Regions from separate parts of the Homo sapiens genome. Here all the other regions are linked to region 4. Evidence: promoter capture Hi-C in human tissues and cell types (Jung and others, 2019). All regions are on one chromosome and are shown on one strand. The core of a region is centred on a gene start or on the middle of the fragment in contact, and the rest is flanking DNA. Distances in the headings are between cores, read along the strand shown. Region 1 has its middle 45 kb from the start of LINC01894. Region 2 overlaps LINC01894 (long intergenic non-protein coding RNA 1894). Region 3 has its middle 13 kb from the start of LINC01894. Region 4 holds the start of ZNF521 (zinc finger protein 521). Region 5 has its middle 360 kb from the start of SS18. Region 6 overlaps LINC01894 (long intergenic non-protein coding RNA 1894). Region 7 has its middle 310 kb from the start of ZNF521.

The links. The method cuts DNA at HindIII sites, captures the fragments that hold promoters and counts their contacts. A contact is called where the count stands out against the background at its distance.
Region 1: a contact is called between a fragment that was not itself captured here and the fragment with the promoter of ZNF521 in region 4, in 1 of the 25 tissues and cell types used here (IMR-90 fibroblasts).
Region 2: a contact is called between a fragment that was not itself captured here and the fragment with the promoter of ZNF521 in region 4, in 3 of the 25 tissues and cell types used here (H1 embryonic stem cells, mesendoderm cells and stomach).
Region 3: a fragment that was not itself captured here is called in contact with the fragment with the promoter of ZNF521 in region 4 in 2 of the 25 tissues and cell types used here (H1 embryonic stem cells and lymphoblastoid cells).
Region 5: a fragment that was not itself captured here is called in contact with the fragment with the promoter of ZNF521 in region 4 in 2 of the 25 tissues and cell types used here (H1 embryonic stem cells and mesenchymal stem cells).
Region 6: a fragment that was not itself captured here is called in contact with the fragment with the promoter of ZNF521 in region 4 in 1 of the 25 tissues and cell types used here (small bowel).
Region 7: a fragment that was not itself captured here is called in contact with the fragment with the promoter of ZNF521 in region 4 in 3 of the 25 tissues and cell types used here (lymphoblastoid cells, mesenchymal stem cells and mesendoderm cells).

The regions. Positions count from the first base shown.
Region 1 is chr18:25,031,645-25,034,344 of GRCh38, forward strand. No RefSeq gene overlaps it. Among named protein-coding and RNA genes, the nearest start is that of LINC01894, 45 kb to the left of the region's middle. The HindIII fragment of the contact is 4,825 bases long and covers 1-2,700 here.
Region 2 is chr18:24,961,147-24,963,846 of GRCh38, forward strand. The region is part of intron 1 of LINC01894 (long intergenic non-protein coding RNA 1894); the gene reads right to left. Among named protein-coding and RNA genes, the nearest start is that of LINC01894, 25 kb to the right of the region's middle. The HindIII fragment of the contact is 4,376 bases long and covers 1-2,700 here.
Region 3 is chr18:24,999,477-25,002,176 of GRCh38, forward strand. No RefSeq gene overlaps it. Among named protein-coding and RNA genes, the nearest start is that of LINC01894, 13 kb to the left of the region's middle. The HindIII fragment of the contact is 4,541 bases long and covers 1-2,700 here.
Region 4 is chr18:25,350,794-25,353,493 of GRCh38, forward strand. It overlaps ZNF521 (zinc finger protein 521), which reads right to left and starts at 1,373. Exons shown (of 8, transcript NM_015461.3): 1 at 1,212-1,373; 2 at 114-154. The coding sequence starts at 153. RefSeq lists a silencer at 1,399-1,468. The HindIII fragment of the contact is 6,455 bases long and covers 1-2,371 here.
Region 5 is chr18:25,727,632-25,730,365 of GRCh38, forward strand. No RefSeq gene overlaps it. Among named protein-coding and RNA genes, the nearest start is that of SS18, 360 kb to the right of the region's middle. The HindIII fragment of the contact is 5,767 bases long and covers 1-2,734 here.
Region 6 is chr18:24,978,378-24,981,077 of GRCh38, forward strand. The region is part of intron 1 of LINC01894 (long intergenic non-protein coding RNA 1894); the gene reads right to left. Among named protein-coding and RNA genes, the nearest start is that of LINC01894, 8.3 kb to the right of the region's middle. RefSeq lists an enhancer at 775-1,332. The HindIII fragment of the contact is 5,645 bases long and covers 1-2,700 here.
Region 7 is chr18:25,665,455-25,668,154 of GRCh38, forward strand. No RefSeq gene overlaps it. Among named protein-coding and RNA genes, the nearest start is that of ZNF521, 310 kb to the left of the region's middle. The HindIII fragment of the contact is 7,189 bases long and covers 1-2,700 here.

The sequences.
Region 1 (2,700 bases), core at 158-2,657, 320 kb before region 4:
ATACACGAAGATAAGAAACTAGAATGATTAAATCCATGAAGACACCTATTAGTACCATTTCTTCTAAGTCAGGAAGTGAGATGAAAGGCCTGGGCTCTTCTCCCAACATTCTGTGCCCTTGGGAAAAGAGTGGGCACCCTACGTGGCAATGTGCAGGCAGAGGACAATAAATTCATCCCAAACCAACCCTAGTTCACTTTTTTCATCGGCTTGAAAGGAGCTTTCTATTTGATTGCTTTGGGGAGATAATTAAAGTGGGACACGTGGCTATATGTAACCAAAATTTGTCAACATTGGTTATATTTAAATAAGACTTTCAACAGTGGTCTCACTTCTTGGTTGAAATCACACACAAAACACAGACATTTCATGGTTTCTTGCAAGCTCTTCCCTTCTCAGGGTGGAAGGGAAGTCTGAAAGAAAACATTTGCATAGATTCAGGCCAAAAGTAGCCTATCTTTGACTTTGTATGAGGGATTAGTGGCGAAGTGTTTATTTTGTTCCTTTTGAAATAGCTAGACAATGTACTGACTTTTCTACTGAAGATTTTAAGCCCAAAAAGCCCATCTAACAATCCCTCCCCTGGACCACTACGTTTTTCCTAAATGCCCAGAGCAGAGCATTTCAAGAGGTAGGGATGCTGTTAGTCCATTTGTATCTTCCTCTCCACAATTCTGACCTCATGCTCTGTACCATTTAGTCTTAGGAACTCACATATATGCACACACACACATACACACACACGTATGCATGTACACAGACATATGCGCACACGCAGGTATGCATGTGTACACACACGTACACACACACTCCTGCACCTGCCACAAGCTGCAAGGTTGTCCAGTGTCTCCATCAGATGATCCCCAAGTCCCTCACAGGCTTTCAAACTCTGGCAAGCCACTTTTCACCACAAATTCCAGTTTCTCAGGGCTTTCAGACACCCTGTAGATGTAATGATACACTCTCGGTTACTGCAATAATAATAATAATTTATACGCACGGTAGCCTTTCATCCATGAATGTTTTAACAATGACAAGTGCTACAGGAGCCCAGAGCAAAGCCTCTGGCCTCTCCCTGCAGCACCCAGCCCTCGCATGGGAGACATCATAGATCTCTCATTCTTCATGCCAACACCTCATAACCATTTCAGGCAGGAAGTAAGGAAATCTGTCCAGTCAAAACTGCAGAAAGGAGTTAGGTAATATAACACCTTTTATTTCTCTTCCCCAGAAACTCTGAGAAATGCACCAATTTGCAGAATAAACTACCCCCAGACAGTCCCCTTGAATTGTTGGTTTTGCCTGGGGATTACATATTTCCTGCGGTAGATTTTCTTCTTTCTTTGTCTTATTTCCACCCAGTACCAAATTTATTTAAAGAATAAGATAAAAATATCTATATGGCTAGGCTATCAGCCCCTCACATGAAGAGTGTGACTGTTCTATATTTACCTATCATTTAAAGATATCCCTATGAGACATATACTCTTTTCATAAAAGGCAGTATGTCCAATAGACCAAAAATTAAAATGAAGAAGGAGGCAGAAGAGGAGACTGATAAGAAGAGGAGAAGGGAGGGGAAGCAGCAGGTACATTCTCAAGAAAACAGCATCGGCCAGGCACGGTGGCTCATGCCTGTAATCCCAGCACTTTGGGCAGGAGTTCAAGAGCAGCCCAGCCAACATGAAGAAATTCTGTCTCTACTAAAAATACAAAAATTAGCTGTGGCGGCACACACCTGTAATCTGAGCTCCTCGGGGGACTGAGGCATGAGAATTGCTTGAACCCGGGAGGCAGAGGTTGCAGTGAGCTGAGATGGCGCCACTGCACTCCAGCCTGGGTAACAGAGCAAAGAGAGACAGGGAGAGAGAGAGAGGGAGAGAGGGAGAGAGAGAGAGGGAGAGAGAGAGAGAGGGAGAGAGGGAGAGAGAGAGAGAGAGAGGGAGAGAGAGAGAGAGAGAGGGAGAGAGAGAGAGAGGGAGAGAGAGAGAGGGAGAGAGAGAGAGGGAGAGAGAGAGAGAGGGAGAGAGAGAGAGAGAGGGAGAGGGAGAGAGAGAGAGGGGGGAGAGAGAGAGAGAGGGAGAGGGAGAGAGAGAGAGGGAGAGAGAGAGAGGGAGAGAGAGAGAGGGAGAGAGAGAGGGGGGGAGAGGGAGAGAGGGGGGGGAGAGAGAGAGAGAGAGAGAGAGAGAGGGAGAGGGAGAGAGAGAGAGAGGGAGAGAGGGGGGGGGGGGAGAGAGAGAGAACCACAACATGGAGGGGAGAAACACAGCCTGGAGACAGCTGGTTTTAAATCTTACCTCTGTAAACATTGATGAGGCCACGCTGACCATCAGTCTCCTTGTTGGTAAATGGAGATTAGAATCCATCCTTCTACAGTTGTTGTGAGGATTAAATAATAATTGGGACGTTTCTGGCACAGAGTAGGTACTCTTATTCCTGTGAATTCTGAAAACTGAGATGATTTGTGCTCATGGATAAGCTACCAGATGGTATCACTTTGCACTTACTGTTTCTTTTAGATGCTTTCAACCTGCTATTAAACCTGTGCTGTTGCATCAAATTATCCATTCACTGGCTTCAGGATAGTGAAGAGTTGGGCAAATAGGCTTCTGAGTTACCAGGAATGAAGCACAGGGCACCACGGGCAAGCCTGGACAGGATCCCTAACCCAGTCCTGGACGTTAGAGACAAAGTGAGGTC
Region 2 (2,700 bases), core at 22-2,521, 390 kb before region 4:
GTCCCCAGGGTTGAGGTGCTGTCTGGAAGGGAGCCACAGAAGAAGGAGCAAGACACAGGCACCTAATGGGGCAGGGGCAGTGAATGTGAAAGGAAAGGATTTGGGGCAGGAGTGAGTGGAGCACAAAATGATAGGGTGCCAGAGAGGGACAGCACTGTCACAAGAGCAGCTTATCCCACATTTCTGTTGGGGGACAATCTGTTGGGGTAAAGCTTATCTCACATTTCTGACTTCCCATCCATTGGAAGAAATGTACAGTCCTTAAACAGAAATCTGGCAAAATAGGTTCTGCCTTCCAGGGATTCTCCCTAAGGCATCCAGATGCAGTTACATTCTCCTTTTGTATAATATGTGTTCTCCTCTTCCTCCTTAGTAGGAGAGCCCTGATTCTGTTGAGTGTGCCAATGTTACCAAAAAAGTATTTTCTCCTCCCTAGGCTTCCTTGTAGCCAGGGGTAGATTTGCTTTGGTTCTGGCTATTGAGATGTAAATGGTCATCCAGATAGGGCTTGGGGTAAAGCTTGCTAAAGGAGGACAACTCAACTGACAAGTCCCTTTTCAGCTTTTGCCTTTGGTTCTTCCCCTTTTTCCTGCCTAGGACTAGATGTGATGACTGGAGGGGGAGCAGCCATCTTGTGTCCATGAAGACAGGAACACAGATTAAGGAGGATGGAGCAGAAAGGCGAAGGGAACTAGGACCCCTTATGGTCTGATGGCACTGCAGTGCTAACTCTGGACTGTCTACATCTGGAACATGTGTCAGTGAGAACAATACTACATTTTGGTTAGACTATTTTTCCTGAGTTCCTGTTACATATGTAATCTGTCTACCAAAGGCTAAAGATGGAAGAAGGGGCTAGGTATTCACGTTTCAGTTCTTTTTGGCTCTCCTCTTTTTTTCAAAGTGGCCTGTCCTCAGGATATAGAGATTCTTTGTTTCTCCTTGCACCATGCTCACTATGTGGGTTCTACCCGTTGGTGGTGACAGGGAATAGTCTGCAGCTAGGTGGGTAAGCTCAGTTCAGAGAGGAAACTGTGAGGAAGCCCAATTGTGGCCACACATCTAAGCACTCTGTAATCTTTAAAATCTCCTTATCAGAGACAAAGCTCATATGTGGCCCTCCATCTGCCTAATTTCTGGTCCATCCCTTTTTTTTTTTTTTTTTTTGAGACAAGATCTCACTCTGTCAACCAGGCTCAAGTGCAGTGGCACGATCTTGGCTCACTGCAGCCTCGACCTCCCAGGCTCAAGCGATTCTCCCACCTCAACCTCCCAGGTAAATGGGACTACATGTGTGTGACTCCACACTCGGCTAATTTTTTTGTAGAGATGAGATTTCGCCATGTTGCAGGCTGGTCTCGAATGCCTGAGCTCAATCAGTCTGCCTGCCTTGGCCTCCCAAAGTGCTGGGGTTACAGGCATAAGCCACCAGACCCAGCTGTGTCCATCTCTTAATAGGTCTAGAATTTGGAGAAGAATCTTATGCGAAGGTGCTTTGGGCCCCTCACACTCCAGAACCGTTTTGCCAACCGACAAAGCTGCCTTAATGGCTTTACAAACCCATTTCTTAGTAGTCTATAGGTTGGTGCAAAAGTAATGGTGGTTTCTGCCATTACTTTTGCACCAACCTAATAGATCCCATGTATGCCACTGAGAGAGAAGTAGAGACTGAATATGATCTTTCTTATTGCTGTATGCACACCACTGCCACCCACACAAATGCTCAGAGCACATGCAATGCTCTTACACAAATATTCTCTCCTACAACAGCTTGAGAGGTGAGAGGCTGTCTCCTGAGAGATGTATGCTTTACAAGCCTGCATGTGGAATCCAGTCCATTTACTAATAGGTACCCACTGAGCATTTCCTTATTAAGTAAGTTCCTCTACTAGATATAAGCTCCATGAGGGCAAACTTGGTCTAGCTGTTTACCATTGTGTGCCCAGAGCCTGGAAGGGAGGCTAAATAAGAAGTGCTCAATAGATAATATATATATAATTTTACATATATAATATATAATCTATGTAATATATATTTATATATATGATTATATATAATTACATATAATTAGTTTTACAAAGGCAGTTTAGTTTTGGGACTATATATTATATATGTAATATAATATAGATAATAGATAATTATATATGTAATATAATATAATATAGATATACACTTATGTGTATATATAATATATATAATATAAATATATATAATATAGATAATATACACTTACGTATATATTTCTTAAATGAATGAACAAATTAATGAAGTCATCTCCAAGTAAGCTAAATTATTTAGTTAGTTTCCATCTATCTAAGTGAAAACTGATTTTGGATGATTTCCTCTACTTTTTAGTCAACTCAGCACTGTTCTTTAATGATTCAATCTCTTGAAAGTACCTTCTAATGGGCTTGGTTATTTTATTTATTCTGTTTTGCTCAATCGCAGATAAATTTGCATTCGATTGGTCCTAAATGGTTGGCAAAGACCGATCCTTGGCTAAGACTCATCTAACCATAACAAGACAAGCTGCATTTGGGCACTTTTCCACAGAAGCAAAAAAATATTTCCCACAAATATTCAATTCTTCATTTATGGGTGAACTGTTCTGCATGAATATTATCTATATGTTTTGAATTCCTTCTTCTTCCAGCTTTCCAGCATTTGCGATTTTCTTCTAATAAATGATTGGAAGGGTAC
Region 3 (2,700 bases), core at 30-2,529, 350 kb before region 4:
TCTAGAAAATGAACCTTAAAAGGCGACTAGTAAATGAAGATATGCTCAAATGTAGTATATTTTGATAACTGCAAATTTAAATGGCAGTGATAGACGTTACACACTCACATTGGGACAAATTGGAAGACTGGACAATGCCAGGTGCTGGCAGGTGTATGGTGATAGGGCAAGCTTCCACCACAATAGGGGGTAGTAGAGACTAATGCAGACATTTTGGAGAACATTCTGTTAACATTTGGTCAAAATATGTGTATGTAAACCCCATGAACCAGCAATCTCACTGCTGGGATACATCTCAAAGAACTTCACACAGTTCTACTTTTCTTTTTCTTGCCTTATTGCTCTGGCTAGGATCTCAGTACAATGTAAAATAGATGGGGTAAGAACAGATTTTTTGCTGTGTTCTTAACATTAGGAGGAAAATATTTGATCTTCTCCATTAAATATATTATCTGTAGTTGTTCACTGATGCTCTTGATTAGCCATCATTTTTTCAAATATATTTTCTGTCCTTTTCTCATTTCTTTTCTTCTGGGATCCCAATTACATGTATGTTATGCTACTTGATACTGTCCTACAGGTCACGGAGTCTTTATTCAAGTTTTTCAGTCTTTTCGTCTCTACATTTCATTTTGCATAATTTCCATTGCTGTGTTTTCAAATCCGTTGATATGTTATTATGTAGCATATAATTTGAGGTAAGTTTCATTCCAGTAACACTTTCTTTTCATATGTTGTATTTCTTAATTTCTAGAATTTTTATTTTGTTTTTTCCATATGTTCTATTTATTTCTTCATGTTTTCCTTTAAATCCTTGAACATATTTACACTTGTGGTTTTAAACATCATTTTCTGATAATTTCACCAGCTCTGTTATTTCTATACCCGTTTCTATGATTGAATTTTTTCTCTTCATTATGGGTCACAGTTTCCTGCTTCATCTCTATCTTATAATTTTTGATTAGATGATTAGATGCCACACCTTATGAGTATTATGTTTCTGAGTAATTTGGACTTACTGGTTTTATTTTAAGGAGTATTTGAATTGTGAGAGGGAAACAGCTACATTACTCAGCTTACTCCGTTTGAGATTTGTTTTTAAATTTTATTAGAGCAATTCTAGAATAGCTTTTATGATTTTTCTTCTTTAGCCTTTACTGCATAGTTTGCTTCTTTTTCTCATCACACATGGTTTTATTGTGAAAAAAATTTAATATATAGAAAAGTTGACAGAATGATATGCAACGAACAGCCATATACTCACTGCCTAGATACACTGATTATTAAAATGTTACCGTGTTTAATTAATCTATCTGTAATATTCTGTATTTATTTTTTCTCACCATTAGAATGTATTCTTTTTCTCCAATTTTTCTAAATGTTACTTTTATATCTTTATATACTTGCTTAAACCTACCAAACATTGCCATATCTTTTAATCTATTCCCTGAACAAATGAGAAAAAATATGCATTTTTTTCCTGCCACTCACCCCCTTGCTTCCTGGTATGTGTGTGCACGTGTGTATTTAGGTGTATTGCTTTCCTTGAAGGTTTTGTCCATATCTATTGTATTTAAAATATTATTTTTATTATATATGTATTCCATCAAAAATTTAAGATTTAATTTTTGTTTTATAATCACAATGAACATAGTTATTTAAACTTAGATTTGTGTTTAAAATGGGATTTGTGATCTATGGATTCCAAAGTAGGCCATGGATTGATTTCCATAGATTTCTGAATAACACCAAGTAGAATGTACATTTTCAGGTATCTGGAGTGCACTTTCTTCTGAGAAGGTCCATGTCTTCCTCAGAATCTCCTAGGGGTTAAGAACAAATTAATTAAGTAATCCACATGCACAGTCCTTTTATACCATAACTTCCTATTCTTTTTTATTCATCTTTCTCATTGCTAGAAAACTTGTGCAAATGACCTTTTCCAGGAATTGTTCATTGGTAATATACTTCCCAAATTCTTGCTTTTGTGAGTATGCCTTTCTTTTGCCTTTACAAGAATAACAACCTGACGGTTTATGGGATATTTGGCCACAGCTTTCCTTTTAAAATTCTCCTATACTGCTAATGTGAATCCTGGACTAGCCTGATGATTCCCATTGTTGGTTACATATTTTCTCTGGCTGGATGTTTGTGACAATAGATGGCATTTACCAAGTACTTATTATGTGCCAAATAACAGGCTAAGTACGTTTGCAAACATTTTTGTATTTCATCTTCATTATAATCTTGTAAGTTACATACTACCTGCTTAATATCACAGCAATGCAGCTTGTACCCAGGTAATCTGACTGTAGTCTTAAGCAGTGCTATTCTGACTTAAAGGATTATTTTTCTTTTCGTCCTTAAAGTTCTGTACATTTGCTCAGAGACACTTTGGGTTTGACAAATTCTTTCCATTTGGCTACAGTGAGCCTTCGCCACCTGTATATTCCTCTTTTTGTGTTTGTTTATCATTTCTAACTTCTGTAGGCACACAAACTATGTGCTGAATCTTCATTGTTTGATTTCCATAGCTATTATCTTCACACTGATCTTTTTGTTTCCTTTGTCTCTCTTTCTTCATTCTGACTGATTATTTTCCCAGGATAGTTCTCTATGGATTCTAGTTTTTAATGTCAGTTCTGGCTTTGATTCTTCTACTGTAGTTTTAAGTTCCATAATAACATTATTTTTCTCCTT
Region 4 (2,700 bases), core at 123-2,622:
CTCACACTCACACTCACGCGCGCACACGCCTCGCAGCCACGCAGCCCTCGCTCCGCTACCCACAGTGACACTCGCGGATGGGGGAAAGCGGGGAGCAGGGGGTTCCTCCTTACCTTTGAGGGATCTCGGTTTCGCTTGCTTGCGGCGAGACATCCTAAAAGCAAACAGCTGAAGTTGTTTCAATTCAGCCCTGAAAGAAACTATACTTCCTCGTGGCCGCGCGCCCCTCGGGCCGCGGCGCCTCGCGCCCTCCGCTCGGCCTCCCTCGCGCCCTCGCTCCGCGCTCCGCTCCTCGCTCCGGCTCCGGCTCGCGCTCGCGCGCGGGGCTCGCGGCTGCCCGAGCTCCGCGCTCTGCACGACGGCGGCGGCGGCGGCGGCGGCTGCTGCACCAAACTTTCCCAGCCTTCGACCCCCACCCCCAATCTCCAAGAAAAAAAAAAAAAAAGGAAAAAGAAAAAAGGAAAGGAGGGAAAAAAAGCTAAAAAAAAAACCCCAAAGACAATGTTTGAAGAGCCGTCAGCTACACTAAAAAGAGAAAATCCGTTACTATTTCCACCTCAATCAAAATTCACATAGTTCATGCGAATAGAAAAAAACTAATAAAAAGAAAAGCGTCTGGGTGATTTTTTTTTTCTTTACCGCTTTTCCTTTTCAACAAATCCGCCCCCCCCCCCACCGGAAAAAAACAAATAACACTGATTTGTTTACAAAGCGAGTCGTGCTCTTTTGTAGTTGGGGGGACGAGGGGGGGAAATCGACCCTGCAAGGCGATGAAAAGGTCTTGGAAAGAAAAATCTCCCACCATCCGAGGCAGATGCGAACGGGCCACGAAAATAAGCAAAGGGAAAAAAATACTTTTTTTCTCCCTTCCCCCCACCCTTTTTTTCTTAACCCACACTAAAGTAATTTCTTTCAAAAAGAAAAAGCCAAAGCACCCGAGCCGACGGCCCCCAGGTGGTGTGCGGGGCTGCTTGTGTGCAGGGGGTGTGCGGGGCCCGGGCTCGGGGCGCCCCTCTCTGGGCGGGGGCGCGGCGCCGGCGGCTGGCGCTGGACCGGGGCTCTAAAGTCTACGGCTGCCTCGGCAGCGGCGGCGGCAGCAGCGGCGGCAGCGGCGGCGGCAGCGGCGGCGAGAGCAGGAGGAGGAGGAGGAGGAGAGCCGGGAGCAGGAGGAGGAGAAGGAGTGTGCTGTGTGCTCCCTCCTCATCACAAACCTGCAAGGTCTTGGACTGCGCTGTCGCTCCGGTAGTCCACATAATAATGGAAAATGGAAGCAAGGCCCCCAAAGCCATCAGGATGGCTCCAGAGGGGGCCCCTAACCCGCAGGGACTCGCTCTGTACGTAATCACTGAGGAAATCATTGTCAGCCTGCCTGCACTCACACACAGACAGAGGGGCATGATTAAAAGGCGAGAGCGCGGGGAGCGGGAGGGAGGAGGGGGCCCGCCAAGACCCGGACTGGAGGCGCCGGCCGCGGCGCGCGGATCCGGAGCCAGGCGGCGGCCGAGCGCCCCGAGCCCCGCCCGCCGCCGCCGCCGCCGCCGCCGCCTCCCACGCGCCGCGCGCCCCGCCCGCTCCTGCGCCGCCGCCCCTCGCGCCGCCCGCCCGGCCGCTCGCACACCCCGCGCCGCCGCCGTCGCCGCCGCCGCAGCTGCGTTATTAGAGCTCCACGGCGGATCTCGGGGCTCTTCTGCTCGCTTTTTTTCCTCTTCAGAAATTAAAGCAGAGGAGCATCTGAAAGTGGAAAGGTCCCCCTTCTGGTAGGATGGATGTAAAAGGAGGCAACAATTTGTTCTTGAGGGGGCAAAAAAAAAAAAAAAAAAAAAGAAAAAGAAAAAGAAAAAGAAAGGAGGGGGGAAATTCATTGCTTGGCTTTTGCATTGTCGGACTTTAAAAAAGTGTGTCTGCTGTTGTTGCCCGGACTCGGGAAATCTTTTTTATGGCAACCGCAGACCTGCCAAGTCTCTCTTACTTGGAATCTTTATAAAGGCAAGTTATTTGGACTTTTTTTTTATTTTCTCGTTTAGAGAAAGTCATTGATGCTGACGAATGTCATAATGTGATTCAAAAGAGACAGCTTTGAGTTCACTTTTTTAACATTCTCAAATTGACATAGATCTTTGTCCAGAAAATAAAGCTTTCTGTTGATTTTTTCTTTAAGCAAGAGGTAAGGAAATATGCACTTAAGAATATGTGTACAAGAAAATAGTTTCTAAAATAAATTGAAATGTCTGCAGGTCGGTGGGAATTTTTGTTTCTTTTCGCAGTTTTGTTTTCTAACTTTTCACCTGCTCCCATCGCAAAACAAGAAACCATCACCTGTTTCCTTCTTTTACCTTATCTTAAGGGAAAGGATGTTTTAGTATTATTATTGTTGTTGCTATTTATTGATTGGACACGCTTGTCAAGTTATAAATGCCTGAGAGGGCTACCAAGTAGAGCTTAGATTCACAAGTCTTGGTGGAAATTAAGAGATTCAGAATACGGTTAATTACACAAAACAGGCAGAATTTTGTACAAATACTATTGTTCTTAATCAGATTTTAAAAATTCTCCGTTCTGTAAAATTAAGGTACAGCTATCTATTAAGCCACCATGCAAAGACATCAAAGCTTTAAGGAAGTTGTATTTTTTCCAGTCTAACCTGTAAACTGCCTGGACCCTCATGTGGATAGCTGCAAATACAGTATGTTTTTTTTCAAT
Region 5 (2,734 bases), core at 125-2,624, 380 kb after region 4:
TGATCAGAAAAGCTTCTCTGAGGAGGGGGCTCAGTTACCCTCTAAGTGTCCCCTACTGCGTGCATTGGTGCTGGCCTTCCTGTTCTCATCCTCCACCACATGGCCATCTGAACCCTGCCACTCATCAACCATCCCGGACAGTGATGATCTGACTTCTGGCCAACTTCCAAGAAAGCATCTCTGGGCTCCACACTCACAAATGTCAGGACACTTAAGCTATTTCTACTACCTTGTTAAGAAGGAAGATTTACAAAGAAACTCACAAGCAAAAGTATAATTCACAAGTATGGCAAAGTCACAGTTGCTAGGTGGGCAAATACCACAAGGGCCACGTTAATCCTATTACCATACAAACGTGCAAGATTATCTTCCACAGTGCAATGTGCTACTCTGGGAAAGAGGAAATAGCTTTGGCCATACAGAACACTTTATTTAGAACTTGAGGCCACGGCAACAGCTATGTGTAAGTGGTACAAAGTCAAAATTAGCCAAACAGTAAGAAGAAGAGCCATTTATCACTTCTTGTCTCTTTAGACTTCTTAAAAAGATGGCTTCCCTGACACTATTGCTTGTGCTGATTTAGTATGCCATCTTAACCCCCTACACACCAGGAAGGTGAGCCAGGTTTCTGGTCCTGAGTCACAGGACTTCTTAACACAGGTAGAACACTTGACTTCTGACCCAAATGGCCAAACTATGAGAAATTCTACATGCTTTGCATCAGTCAGGATTCTTAATTGCAAGGGAAAGAAGTTGACTCTTACTGATCAATTAGAAAATAACATTATTGTCAGGATACTGGGTAGCTCACAGAATGGTAAAGAGGTAGAAAATGAGTTGCCAGGCGAGGTGGCTTACGCCTATAATCCTAGCACTTTGGGAGCCCGAGGCGGGTGGATTGCCGGAGCTCAGGAGTTTGAGACCAGACTGGGCAACAAGGTGAAACCCCGTCTCTACTAAAATACAAAACAATTAGTCAGGCGGGGTGTTGTGCGTCTGTAATGCCAGCTACTCAAGAGGCTGAGACAGGAGAATCGCTTGAACCCAGGAGGCAGAGGTTGCAGTGAGCCAAGATTGCACTCCAGCCTGGGTGACAGAGCAAGACTCCATCTCAAAAAACAAAACAAAACAAACAAAAAAAAAAAGAAAGAAAGAAAGAAAAGAAAATGAGCTTGTGGGGAAGTTTCCAGGAAACATACCCCAAAGCCTTGAACTGGTCTAACAGGAGAAAAAGCGTCACTGCTGCTGTCACTGAGCATGAGACTTCAGATTTGTTCTGAACCCTCTTCTGCATAAGGCAGTTGAATTTACCAGGCCCAATCCACTCCTGTGCCAAGAATTCAACCTTGCAATCGCCCGCCAGCCTCAGCATGCTAACTTTTGTCCTTAGGCCTGTTGCCCCAGGGTCTCAAAATGGCTGCCACTGCTCTAAACACAATCACATTCTAAGCAGGAAAAAAGGCAAGAGGTAAATTTTCCTCTTTCATCAGGAAGCAATCATTTTCCAGTAATTTCAAAGCAGACTTATCTTTACTTCTCATTGTTCAGACCTGAGTCTTGCTCCCTACCTCTCTCAATCTTGAAGGCAGTCTGGAAAAGAGGATGTCTGGGAAATGGGGTTGAGTCACCCCTTAGGGCTACGTACATTGACAGTCTTCACAAACTTGGGGTTCTGTGGTAAAGTGTATAGAATAAGTATGGTCTATTGGTAACAGAAATGGTATGTTACCTCCCACTGATCTCTTGAATTTGTTCCCTGGTGCTAGTTCTGCTCCTAAACATATTAAAAACTTGAGAAGGAAGCTTTTTCTCATCACTCAGATTACCTGTAATTAGAATCCTCAGTCCCATGATATAGTCAAAATTTCAGTATTGTTGAAATCCTTCCTCATTTCCATTTCCTCATGAGCGTCCCCGCCCATAAAAAGTACCCGTGCAATCTGTACCCTGGCAATTTTTGAGAAAACAGGTCTTACAAACAGCCACCTCTCCATTGGCTCATCCATTCACAGCTACTAAGCCCTTCTTTTATGCTTTAGACTTCTTGGGTGGCCCACAAGATCCCTTAATTTCAGGAAATGAATATCAAGTTCTAAAATACATCACAAAAGCCCCTCTCACAGGCTAAATGAGTAGGGGAATATCCTCTGTCGTTCACCCTGGTGAAATTGGGATCACAGCATAGCATTAGCTGACTCCCTCAAAACATGTTCCTAAAAAACCTCTCTCAGTCTCTGCTGTATATTTCTATATACCCATCACATGGTTGAGAAGTTCAAGAGTCCTGTAACTAGTTTTTGGTTGCCTTATTTTTTACCATATTCGACAGGGAGATCTGTTTTCCAACTCACATTCACATTTGATATCTCTCTTCTTAGGAATTCTGTTACAATGTCCTGTTACAGATGGAGGAAAGTGAAAAGGTTATTTTTTCCACAACTAACTGCATCTGCCACAGATTTTAAAATGTAACATATAATTTCACTTCCCTCCATGAAGGATTAATTGCTACAAGAATTGTCATCTTGCCATAAACAACAGAAATTGAAACAAAATATATGAAATAAGTACTTTCAGACGTTGAACAGAAACAATGAAAAATTGTGATCCCTGAGGAAAAAAAAGATACAAACAAGATGAGCCTTATGGTTGTCCCAGCTTATAACTGGGAGGCAGAGTCCAGACCACAGACCAAGGAATGGGAACTCCAACAAATCCTAAAGTTCTTTCATTT
Region 6 (2,700 bases), core at 48-2,547, 370 kb before region 4:
AAACCATGCTAAATATACATCCTCAGTGCCTGCCACCTTAGTGGGTCTGCAGTAAGTTGTCTATTGAGAAAAGCTTGGGTGCTGTAGTCTTATCGTCATTAAAAAGTGGGCAGGATCTATAAATAGCACCCAAATTTTAAACTACTTTTCTGGAGCAAAATGTTTGCTTAGTCTCGCCATGCAATATTTAAAACTATTTATTTTGAAGTAATTATAGATTGGCAGGAAATGGCAATGATAATATAGAACGGTCCTATAGACCGTTCACCCAGGTTCCCCTAATGGTAACATCTTGTGTAACTATAGTAGGACCAGGACATTGTCCCAATGTCAATTGCAGGTCTCACCAGCTTTACACATACTCATTTGTGTCATCACACATTTGCTGATTGTCTGGCATCTTTGAAGAGCTTACTTAGAACTTTTAGAGGCACAACTTTCTCCTAAGAGTCCATTTATGGTAGCTTCTAATTGGGCTAGTTTCTCAAGATCTCAGAGTCAGTATACTCTCTCTCTCTCGCTTTCTCTCTCTCTCTTTCTCGCTTTCTCTGTCTTTCTCAAGAACACAAGCAAATAGGGTTCTGATATGTAGTAGTAATGAAGAGATAAGAAAGTCTGGTACTTGTGGCTATTGATTAAAATCTGTGATTGGACCCAGCATAAAGCCAGGAGAGGGTAGAATTATACTAAGCAAATAGGCTTTATTCCAGAGGCTGAGGAGAACCTCCATCCCTAAACAGTGTGGCAAAAAAAGGAGCATGAGGAAGAGAAGAACTAATCTGTAACAGGCACATGCTGAATATTTCCCAGCAAGGTTCCATGTGCTGGGTGAGGAGGCTGGGAGCCCAGACAAACCCTGCACCGTGGTTCCAGCACTTTTGAGTTTGAGCTCCCTGCTTGCCAAGCTCCTGGTGATCCAGAGGACCTCAGGAAGATCCAGACAGTGGGGAGGGGCGGGGAGAAGAGGTGAGGGGGACTTTTCCCAGCCAAAACCTACTTCAATGGATCAGCCAGCCTCTGAATAGCAGCTTTTGACATCTCAGTGGGTTGTGAGGGAGGTGTGGTCATCACAAATGAAACAGACCACAGGGGGTGCAGGAGACCTCTGCAGGGCCCCTAATCAATTACTAAAAACATGGAGAGGGTCCTTGGAAAATGAGTGAAGGAGACAGACGCATGCTGACACTCAGTGGTATCGCTGGGCACCAAAGGAGAAACTGGGGGATTTTCAGCTTCACAGAGGATGGGGTGATTGTTTCCTTTCATCAGCCGTTGCCCTCAGAAAACAAAACAAAAACCAGAAGAGAAACATTGCCTATGGAAAAAAAATACATATAGAGGCTGAAAAGGAGGAAATAAAAGGAATGAAATTTGCTTTTACGAAATAATTTAAATAGTCTTGAATGCCCAGAGGGCCCAGGCACTATATTATGTGTTACAGAGAGGTTGCTATCTCCCAAAGGGGATATGAAATGGGAGATGAATATTATTAATCATCCCTATTTGCTATATGTTAGGAAACTGAGAAAAAGTGAAAATGAGTGATTTTCCTTCAGATTCACATGCTGTGGCAGCCACAGGGCTGGGATTGACAGACAAAAGCATGACGCCCTGCAAAGCAGAAGAGACACCAGCAGGCTGTGGGGGCTCATGCAGTTGAATGCAATGATGCCCAGGATCCCCATAAGCCACCTAGCAGCGGGGTCGTCTGCTGCCTGAAGTACCCTGTAGGAGTGGCTGGGGACTCCTTTGCTGGGTCATGTCCACCAGCAGTTCACCTGCTTGGCTTGGGCTGGCTCGAGTTCACTTAAAGGGACTTTAAGGGATTGGGTTGATGTTGAACCTCATTGATCAAACTGAGATTACAGGGAACAGACTAGAACATCAGATTCACTAGACAGGAACTATCTATTTAGTTTACTTCTATATCCCCAGGACCTGGAACATTGCCTGGGGCCCAATCCGTATGTGTGGGATAAAGGAACAGATCATATTGCCACTTTCTCGGTGCTGGTCATGGTGACAGGCACTAGAAACAGAGAGATGAATAAGTCAGCCCTTCCTGAAGAATTCTGTGAGCACCTAAGAGGTGTTATGAAGGGGTAGGGAGGAGGAAGTTCTTTGACCAAATAAACATAAGAAGTTTGGTTTTATTTCAGAAGGATTTCTCATAGACTTCAATAAGTGAATATGGCTTGTGAATTCCCAAGAGGGGCATATATTTGCATCCTTTCTGAAGTATAATTGATGTTAAAAACCCACTCCCTGTTCTGCACACACCTTTACAGTGTATACTGGGACTGGTGTTTGTTCCTTGGGGAAAGCATGGCACCTGCCCTTGAGTAGCTCCTGATCTCTTGGTAGCCACTTCCATCCAAGGTCTGCCAAGCAATAACTCGGTCTTCCATGCTCACTGGTCTGAGAGATGACTGGATCACTGTAAGACCACGACTGCCAACTACTTTACCCCAGACATTTTTGCCTACTGTGGTCCCTAGATAGTCGTTACCTGGATTCCCAACCCCAGGCCCTGGAACATATGGGTAGAAGTCCTAATCTCCTAAAAACAGTCAGTTCTAAATCTATGCATGTGCTCATGATCTGATATTTAAAGCTGAGATAGACTCAGAAACCTTGAAGACAGTTCTGCTCTCAGTAATTCTGACCTGGTAACACAAAGTCTAAATCCTGCCACCATGC
Region 7 (2,700 bases), core at 108-2,607, 310 kb after region 4:
TATATTAGTTAGAGAGTAAGAACAAACTGCTGTCATGAAGAGATCCCCAAAACACAATGGTCCAAACCAGATAGAAATGTCCTCATTTCGTGGGTAACCCACAATGGAAGTCAGCTTGGCTACCCCCCTGTTTTGGACAGTGAGGCTTTCCCCAGCACATTTCTTCATGATTCACTTAGAGCATTATCTTTGTCTGCCTGGTTTAAGCCTTGTTGCAGCAGGCAGAAAGAGGAAAGGGACTTCACAGTGGGGTCCCACCCAGCTGGGAGGTGTTGCCCCGCTCCAGGTCCATGACCATGGAAGCAGCTGGGCATCTGAGTGGGCAGCTGTAGTCCCTTCCCCAATCCCCTAGCAGGGTGATTTTAGAGGCAAACAGGATTATGAAGATAGATCGTGTAGCACACTGCCTGGCACCCATCACATTAGGTATTCAATAATGGTAACTATTATTCTTATCATCTTATTATTGGCCTTCCTGGTAATTCCTCCTCTTGCTATTTATCAAGTCTGTTCAAAACCTCACTCATGAAATAGAAAGTAAACAAATTTCTTTTTTTTTTTTGATATTGAACTTTATTTATTGTACCACATTGCATTGAAAATTTGGTTTAAAAATGTCTCATGAACAGCAACAATCCTGAATTTGTAACTTTCCTGAATTATAGCTAAATGTCTATATTCAGCTTTGAGCAGTTTTAGTAAATCAAATCAAATGTAACAATTATGATTATCCCTATTGATGTTCTAACATTGTGACGTCCACAAGGGAAGAGAGTTCAGAAAGTGAACACATTTCAACCCGCCCTTTTGAAGGGACCCACTGATGCCTCAGATCAAATCACAGTGGCTTAAAGTCAGGTTTGTGTGACTTTGGCACCAACTTGGAAATGGCTTGGTCACCAGAGAGGTTAACAAACAACTGTCCCATATATACCACATTTATCTTCCACATCTGTATGTCTTCTGTCACAGCAGCATTTGATACAGGGCTTGGAGTGCTTGTGGTTCATCAGTGGTGGGAGAGGTCTTTGGTGAAAGGGCGTGAGGTAGTCTGATCCCACAGGGAACTCTGGAAAAGGAGCAGGAGCAGGAGCAGGACTTGTACTACAAAATCAGTCCCCTTTGTACTCCGGTTCCAGGCAGCTTATGGCTGCAGGCCACAGGCTTCATGGGCAGTGAGCTCAATGTCCCTAACAGCCAACTTTGTAGCAACTTAGGAGATGACTGCCACAGCCTGTTAAAGGAGATGTGGGCCGTGCCCATCAGCAACCATTTTCTGCGGATGTTTGCTGCTTACTTTCGCCGTGTTAGAGAAACAAAGTACTGGGCCAAATCAGAGTAGAAAAAAGTTCTTATCTAGATGATTGGATCAGGAAAGGTTTTTGTCTCACTGTCACAGACTAAACTTCTCACTCCAGCCATCACTTGGCCACAGGGGCATCATAAGAAACATGCAAATTTTCACTACTACTGGAAAAGTGATTCCTACCACAACAAGAAAAAATGTTTTCTGCAAATAGGCATCCAAGCTACTTGTTATTATTTAACCTGTTAATGCAGTACCACTCTTCAGAAGCAACCTAGGTAATTAACACATTGCATGGACCCCAAACAAGAACATGGGTTGATTCAAATCACCACCTTTAACATATTTTCAAAACCATCTGAGAAGGATTTGGGGGAACGATTCAAGGCATTCTTAATCACTGCCTACTGTCCAACTTCCTTTATATAACACCTCTTAGATCTAAACCGAATTCTCCCTTCCCAGTACCCCTTTCCAAGGCCTTATGTCTTCATACCTAGATCAGTATAGTTTCACCTGCCACTAACTCTGGGACAAATCCCAAGGACTAGCTCCATCTCGAGTCAGCCTGAGCTTGGACACTGGTCCTGGGCTTTGTCTTGTTCTTTGTGTACAGGACATCATCTACCCCAGTTCCGGAAATGAGACCAATACTTTCTCCAATGCCTGATTTCCTGCTTTAGTTCCCACTTAGATGCCCCAGGTCCCTTAGGAATAGGTCCTTGTGCCCCTGAGTCCATTTGGAGATTTGCCCACTCACCAGTCCTGTGGCTTCCTGCTGCCTAGTGACAGCCTCCTTGGGCCACATGCCACATGCCCACTCACCTGCCTGCCTGCATCTGCACCTAAGGTCGACTGCCAGACAGCTCTCCTTCCCACAGAATGGGAAGAACAGATGGAATAGTCTTGACAAAGTGGTGTAAAGAGAGAAAATGCCAGCTACACTGCAATAGGAAATGAGAGTTAAACTCCTTTATGAGAAAAGGGAGTTGCTAAAAATGGAGGCCATGGAAAGGGGGAGGCTGCCCTCCTTCCATCCTGATGGTTGCTGTCAGTGGGACTACAGAACACAGCCATTGAGGGCTTGTGTCCTGGGATGAGACCTGACTTACAGCCCAGCGCACCACTCACTAACAGCTAAGAGAGGACAAACACATCACCCACCAGGTTCAGGTCCCCATCTGTAAAGTAGGAGTAATAGCACTCTGTCCTCCCAGCTACTTCTCTTGCTGGAATTCAAAGAGATACAATATGTAAAGTCTCTTACAATTGTTCCTTAAGCATAGGCCTGATACACAAGAAATGCTCAATAAATAGTAATATGCATCAGTTCCAGAGGAAGAGATACACGTAGAGTAGATTTTTTGTAGGGGAGAGAGAAGATCATGTATTTA